Linked DNA regions of Homo sapiens: region 1 is linked to region 2. The links are contacts of gene promoters, found by promoter capture Hi-C in blood cells and fetal thymus (Javierre and others, 2016). All regions are on one chromosome and are shown on one strand. The core of a region is centred on a gene start or on the middle of the fragment in contact, and the rest is flanking DNA. Distances in the headings are between cores, read along the strand shown. Region 1 holds the start of ADAMTS5 (ADAM metallopeptidase with thrombospondin type 1 motif 5). Region 2 has its middle 4.1 kb from the start of LINC01695.

Region 1 (2,882 bases), core at 327-2,826, 1.3 Mb before region 2:
GGGTCAGCAGGTAATGCTGCAGGCCCCGGCCATACAACCGCGCCATGGACGCGTCAGCCACCAGAAGCAGCTCCACCTGGCGGGCCCGGGAGATGGAGCGGCGCCGCCGCCGCCACCACGTCTGCGGTCCTGAGCCCCCAGCGGGCGAGAGAGCGGACTGGTCCAAGAGCTGCGAGGCCAGTGCTGCGCGTCCGCTCGGGTTGCTGTGCGCCGGAGCATGCTCGTGGGCCTCCGGTGTGGACGCGGGGGTTTCGCAGCTGGCGCGCGGCGGCAGGGCCTCGAAGCTGAAGCCCTCGCGGGTGTAGACGTGCAGGATCCGTGCGGACCCATCCCCGTACACGCGCCCCTTTTCTTCCTCCGCCCAGGGTCCGCGCAGCAGTGGCTTTAGGGTGTAGCGCGCGTGCTTGACCGCGAAGAAGCCGTCGAGACCCCCACAGAGGTCAAAGACAGCCAGAGAGCGGGGACTACCGTCCACTGTGCCCCGATAGAAGCAGTGGCTCCGGTGGCGCCAGGGCGCACTCGTCCCGCCTCCTGCGGGCACGAAGCCAGCAATGCCCACCGAACCATCTCGCTCCAGGTCCAAGAGGAACCTCCGGCCGCCCGCGTAGACGAGGTAGCCCACCTTGCCGCCGCCGGAGTAGAGTTGGTCGATGTTCTGCACCAGCCCCTTGCTCCTGCGCCGCTGCGCCAGGGGGTGCGGGTGGCCGGGAGGCTCGGCTCGCTCCTGCACCTCCTCCCCCTGCCGCCGGCGGGGCTGGGCGGCTGCTGCAGCAGTCGGAGGCTGCCCGGCTTTATCCTGGGCAGGTGTCGCGGCGGGGCCGACCGCGGCCAGGGGCAGGCGGAACGCGCACAGCAGCAGGGACGCCCACCCGAGCAGCATAGTGCGCTGCCCGCGGGGAGGGGCTGCGCGACTGGGACTTTATGGGTATTTGTTATTTGCTATGAAGTTAACGGGGCGGGGGATGGGGACACACACACACTTGCTTGCAGGATTGAGTCAAGTGTCGGAGGGAGGGGGGCCCGGCAGCAGCGCCAGCCTGTCCGGGCTGCGGTGCCAGCGTGCGAACTTTTCTTTGTTGCTTGGGAAAATGTTTGGATTCGTGCTCCAGAAAGAGGTGGGGTGGGGGGGGGGGGAAAGAAAAGATTAAAAAAAAAAAGTCGGATAGTGGAGATTCAGCAAATACGGGAAAAGGAAAAAAACAAAAACCAAAAAACCACCAAATGCAGGCACGATCGCTGTTTCAAGAAAAGTAAGGAAAGGTACCGCGCACCGGGCTGGCAACTGGTGCGCGCAGCCTCCCGCCCCCGCGCTGCGCTGGACAAGCCGGCTGTGGAGGTTCCAAGCTCCGGGGCCCACTTCCTTTCTTATTTTGTGGGTTTCCTTGGCTCTGCTGGGACCAGGAGGAAGGGAAGAAAGAGAGGGGAAAAAGCCGTAAAAATTAAAACAAAAATGCAGGGGGGCAGCCTGAGGCGAGCTGGTGAAGCGGCGTGTCTGTGTCCCTTCGGCTGCGGTCTCCTCCTGCCCGCCGTCATCCCCAGTCGGCAGCTGCGAGCGCCGAGAGCAGCGCGAGCGCTGTGAAGATGCGAGGAGGTGGAACAATGAATTTATAGCGGCATGCCATCCTGCAATGGCAATTTCAACAGTTCGTCACTGCACGCTGCCTCTTAAAGGGAGAGCTTCCCCCACCACTCCCACCCTTCCCAGTCCGCGCCTAATCAGATGGGGGAGGGCAAAAGAGGAGGGTGATCGAGGAAAGGGAGACGAAGTAGGAGGAAGGGACTGGGACCCGGCGAGGTGGTAGGAGGGGAGAGGGGAAAATAAAAAGTAATGGGGCAAGAAAAACAGATTTCCTTGGCCACTTTTAAAGCCACAGCGGCTCCGGGTCTGTCTGATATTTCACAACCAATTGGGGTTGGCTAACCTTGGCTTACCTCATCTCCTGAACGGGTGTTTTGGTTAAAGTTATTGAGACGTTTCAAGTCTCTCCCTGCCTCCTTCTTGCCTGCTTTTCTCGCCCTCGGTGGGAAGTTCCTGCCGCAAGTTTTTCCCCTTTGCACACCCGTGCGCTCTGGCCTCGCAGACCGTGCAACTCCATCCACCAGCCAGAGCTTTTCAGCTTCCCGTGCGTCCCCTAACCACCGCGTTCCCTTCGCTTCCTCCCCTCCGTCCCGGCACCCGGTTTCCTCCCTCCCCATTCTCCAGCCTCTTGATGCTTTGACGCTCGCCGGATTCGGGCTCCGGGTGACTAACTTCTCCCGGCCACCAGCAGAGCGGCTGGACAGCCAGAGAGCCCAGGGCGCTTCCTGGCGCGCTGCGGTACCCCGGGGCGAGAACGCCCGCCGCTTGGGAACTCCGCAGCTTTGTGTGCGAACGGCGGGCTCCCAGCTTTCTCCAGCACGCCTTTCGTCAGGGTCCACAATCTGTCCCTTACTCCCAGCCCACTGGAACTTCCTTTGCTCTAAAAAGGCAGAGCGAGAAAGAGTTAACTCTTAGAGGGAATTCCGCTCATTTTTTTTCCCTGAAAGATTTTAAAATTTTGCGCTCATACTTTTATTTTTTGCTTAAATGATACTTTAATAATAAATTCCTATATCTGTTTTTGTCTCTTCTAAAGCAACCACTTATCGCCATAGGCCTTGACCTACCTTCATTCTCAGAAATTCCTTTTAGAAGAAAAAGAATACTTTTGGCGGAAGGAAGATTGGTGCTTATTAGTACGCGGGTGACATTATCACTGCTACTCGTTTCCTCTGACCTCTTTGTTTCCTCTAATTATCATTCTAAGAAGGGAGAAGGAAAACCCGACGACTTATGGTTAGAAGGTCTACCTTCTACTGTAGGGGTAAGAGCTCCCTCCATGCCCAAATTATTCTTCAGGCTA
Region 2 (2,916 bases), core at 65-2,564:
AAATACTACATGTAATTTATTTAAATAAAATAACACACATGCACACAAATAAGTTAGATGAGGCCACATGCATTTCATCTGTCTTAGCCAGTTTGGACTGCTATACCAAAATACCATAGACTGAGTGGCTTAAATTATAGACTTATTCTCACACTTCTGAAGATCCAGGTGCTGCCGCATTTGGTTTCTGGTGAGTACTGTCTTCTTGGTTTGCAGACAGCCAGCTTCTGGCTATATCCTCATGTAGTAGACAAACAGAATATCTTTCTCCTCTCTCTTCTTATGAAGGCACTAATGCCATTTATGAGGGCTGTACCCTCATAACTTAATCACTCCCAAAAGACTCACTTCAAAATATTATCACATTATGGATTAGGGTTTCAGCATATGAATTTAGGGGGAACATAAACATTTAGTCCATAGTACCATCTGAGGATGCTTTTCAAGTTGATAATGTTCAAATTTTCATCTCTCTGTCCTTGCAAACATTATTTAATCAGTCTATATATTATCAGCTTATCCACCAATGATTTATGAGATTGTATTTCTGATTAACTTATCAGAAACCAAGATACTCTATCATGGTTATTGTTTTACCAGTTAAGTAAGACTTACAGACATAACAACTATGAGATAGTCCAGGTCTATTTAATAGAAAAGAGCTGCACACATATTCTGAAGTAGTTTGCTAACCTGAATTTGCATAAGAATCCACTAAATAAGCTTTAGAGAGCTGATGAGAATCCACTAAATTAGTTTGAGTGGATTCTTACGTAATTTCTAAATGCAGGTCTCAGGACACCATCCCCAAAATATGTTGATTCAGTAAACCTGTGGGGTTAATAATGAATCTACATTTACAATAGGGACTCCACTTCCCTAGGTTTTTTGTACATGATTGATCCTTGAACCATACTTTTGAAAAACACTGGAAGTTATATATTATGGAAGGAAAACAATATGTACTAATTTCAACCCAGAGAACTATGATGTGGACACATCTGAAGTGCAATATCAATAATATTTAATATGTATCCTACACAGTGAAATAGAAAAGAACAAATAATCCAACAGGGAATATATACTTTTATATTATGTGGTAAGACAACACATAAAAATAAAATAAATAAGATGTGACAGTAGAAATAAAGTTTTTTTCACATAAACCTTGGTTCAAGAATATAAGAAAATAACTAAGTATTAATATGTAAAAATTGCAAATGTTACAATACTGCAAGCAAGATTTCTAACCATCTTCTGGGTATGTGACTTTTACTTTTCTGCATATGTGGATATGTCAACAACTGGAATGGTAATGTGCTTTTCTTAGAATTATAAACAAGTTATGTAACAGTTTGGTGGTCCAAAGACATCCTCTAACATGTGTGGGTCTCTAAAGATACGATTTGGCTGTCAAGCCTTTTCTATTTATAGGAAAATAATACATAACGTATAAATTTCTAAACAGTATTAATTCTTTTTGCTGACATTTACCTATTTGTTTTTATTCAGTTTTATCTTTGCAATTTCTTACAAAATAAAATATTTTTCATTTTTATGTTGCCATGTGACTACATCTGAATATCAAATTTTTCCAAAATAGTAATCTGATTGTGTAACATCGTGGCTTAAAGCCCTTCAGATTCTTCACATGACTCTTAAGATGATATCCAAATTCTGGACATGACCCACAAGACCACTGCCAGCCAAGCCCTCCAGTCGGCCCTCTCTGGGTTCTTCATACCAGCTCTCTCCAGCTTAGCCACAACTCATCAAGATCTTGGTATATAACAGATACTGTCCCTAATGCATTATGGAACAAATCACCTTCAATCCCTGCTAAAGATGTTCCAGATAGAATGAATTTTCTTTTCTTTTCACAAATTGATCATTTGAAAAGAAAAGGAAGCTTTGCCATGTTTGTCATGTCACACAATACCACATCAGTTACGAAATGATGAGGCTCAGATTTGAACTCAGACAAGTCTAAATCCAAAACCCTAATTCTCACCATTGCATTACGGGGCTTGCTCTTTGAATTTTCAAATATGCCTTCTTTCTCTATTCTTCAAAGTGTCTGGAAAACTATCCTTGTTCCCAGAGCCTCCTTCACTGGCTAATTCTACCCCCAGTTCCTCTCAGGCAGTCTAGACTCTGTGTGTACGTTCCCATGTTACAAAGCACAATTCCTAATGGACTGTATTGTAATTGTACAGTTAGTTGTTTGTATCCCTCAAAAGAATTTTGTATGAAGGCAGAAAGCTTATTATTCACCAGAATCTCCAGACTGTCTGACACTTGGCATATAATAAATGACAAATAAATGTGTTGATTGGTTCGTTGAAATCATGAATGAATGAGGCTTTTGTATGAGAAAGTGTCAGAAATAACGTTTGTAGATTTGCTTGAAAATGTTGCGCAACTTAAAAATTGTGTTGGGATCTGGCAAGATGGCCGAGTAAGAATAGCTCCTGTCTGCAGTTCCCAGTGAGATCAACACAGAAGATGGGTGATTTCTGCATTTCCAACTGAGGTATCCGGTTCATCTTATTGGGAATGGTTAGACAGTGGGTGCAGCCCACAGAAGGCGAGCAGAAGCAGGGTGTGGTGTCGCTTCACCTAGTAAGTGCAAGGGACTGGGGAACTCCCTCCCCTAGCCAAGGGAATCTGTGAGGGACTGTGCTATCTGGCCCAGATATCACACTTTTCCCACAGTTTTTGCAACCCACAGACCAGGAGATTCCCTCGTGTGCCTCATCACCACGTCCCTAGGTTTCAAGTGCAAAACTGGGCTGCTGTTTGGGCAGACATGGAGCTAGTTGCAAGAGTTGTTTTTTTTTTTTTTTCATACCCCAGTGGTGTATGGAACTCCAGTGAGACAGAGCCATTCACTCCCTTGGAAAGGGAGCTGAAGTC

Evidence for each region. Contacts are between HindIII fragments. The CHiCAGO score rates a contact against its expected background, and 5 or more counts as called.
Region 1: the fragment with the promoter of ADAMTS5 here is called in contact with a fragment that was not itself captured in region 2 in 3 of 17 cell types (M0 macrophages, M1 macrophages and M2 macrophages); the score reaches 6.9 in M0 macrophages.

The regions. Positions count from the first base shown.
Region 1 is chr21:26,965,512-26,968,393 of GRCh38, forward strand. ADAMTS5 (ADAM metallopeptidase with thrombospondin type 1 motif 5) reads right to left here and starts at 1,577. Exons shown (of 8, transcript NM_007038.5): 1 at 1-1,577. The coding sequence starts at 880. It overlaps LOC124905050, which reads right to left. Exons shown (of 3, transcript XM_047441063.1): 2 at 1,933-2,459; 3 at 1,145-1,573. The coding sequence ends at 1,145. The HindIII fragment of the contact is 6,499 bases long and covers 1-2,882 here.
Region 2 is chr21:28,231,310-28,234,225 of GRCh38, forward strand. No RefSeq gene overlaps it. Among named protein-coding and RNA genes, the nearest start is that of LINC01695, 4.1 kb to the left of the region's middle. The HindIII fragment of the contact is 1,186 bases long and covers 722-1,907 here.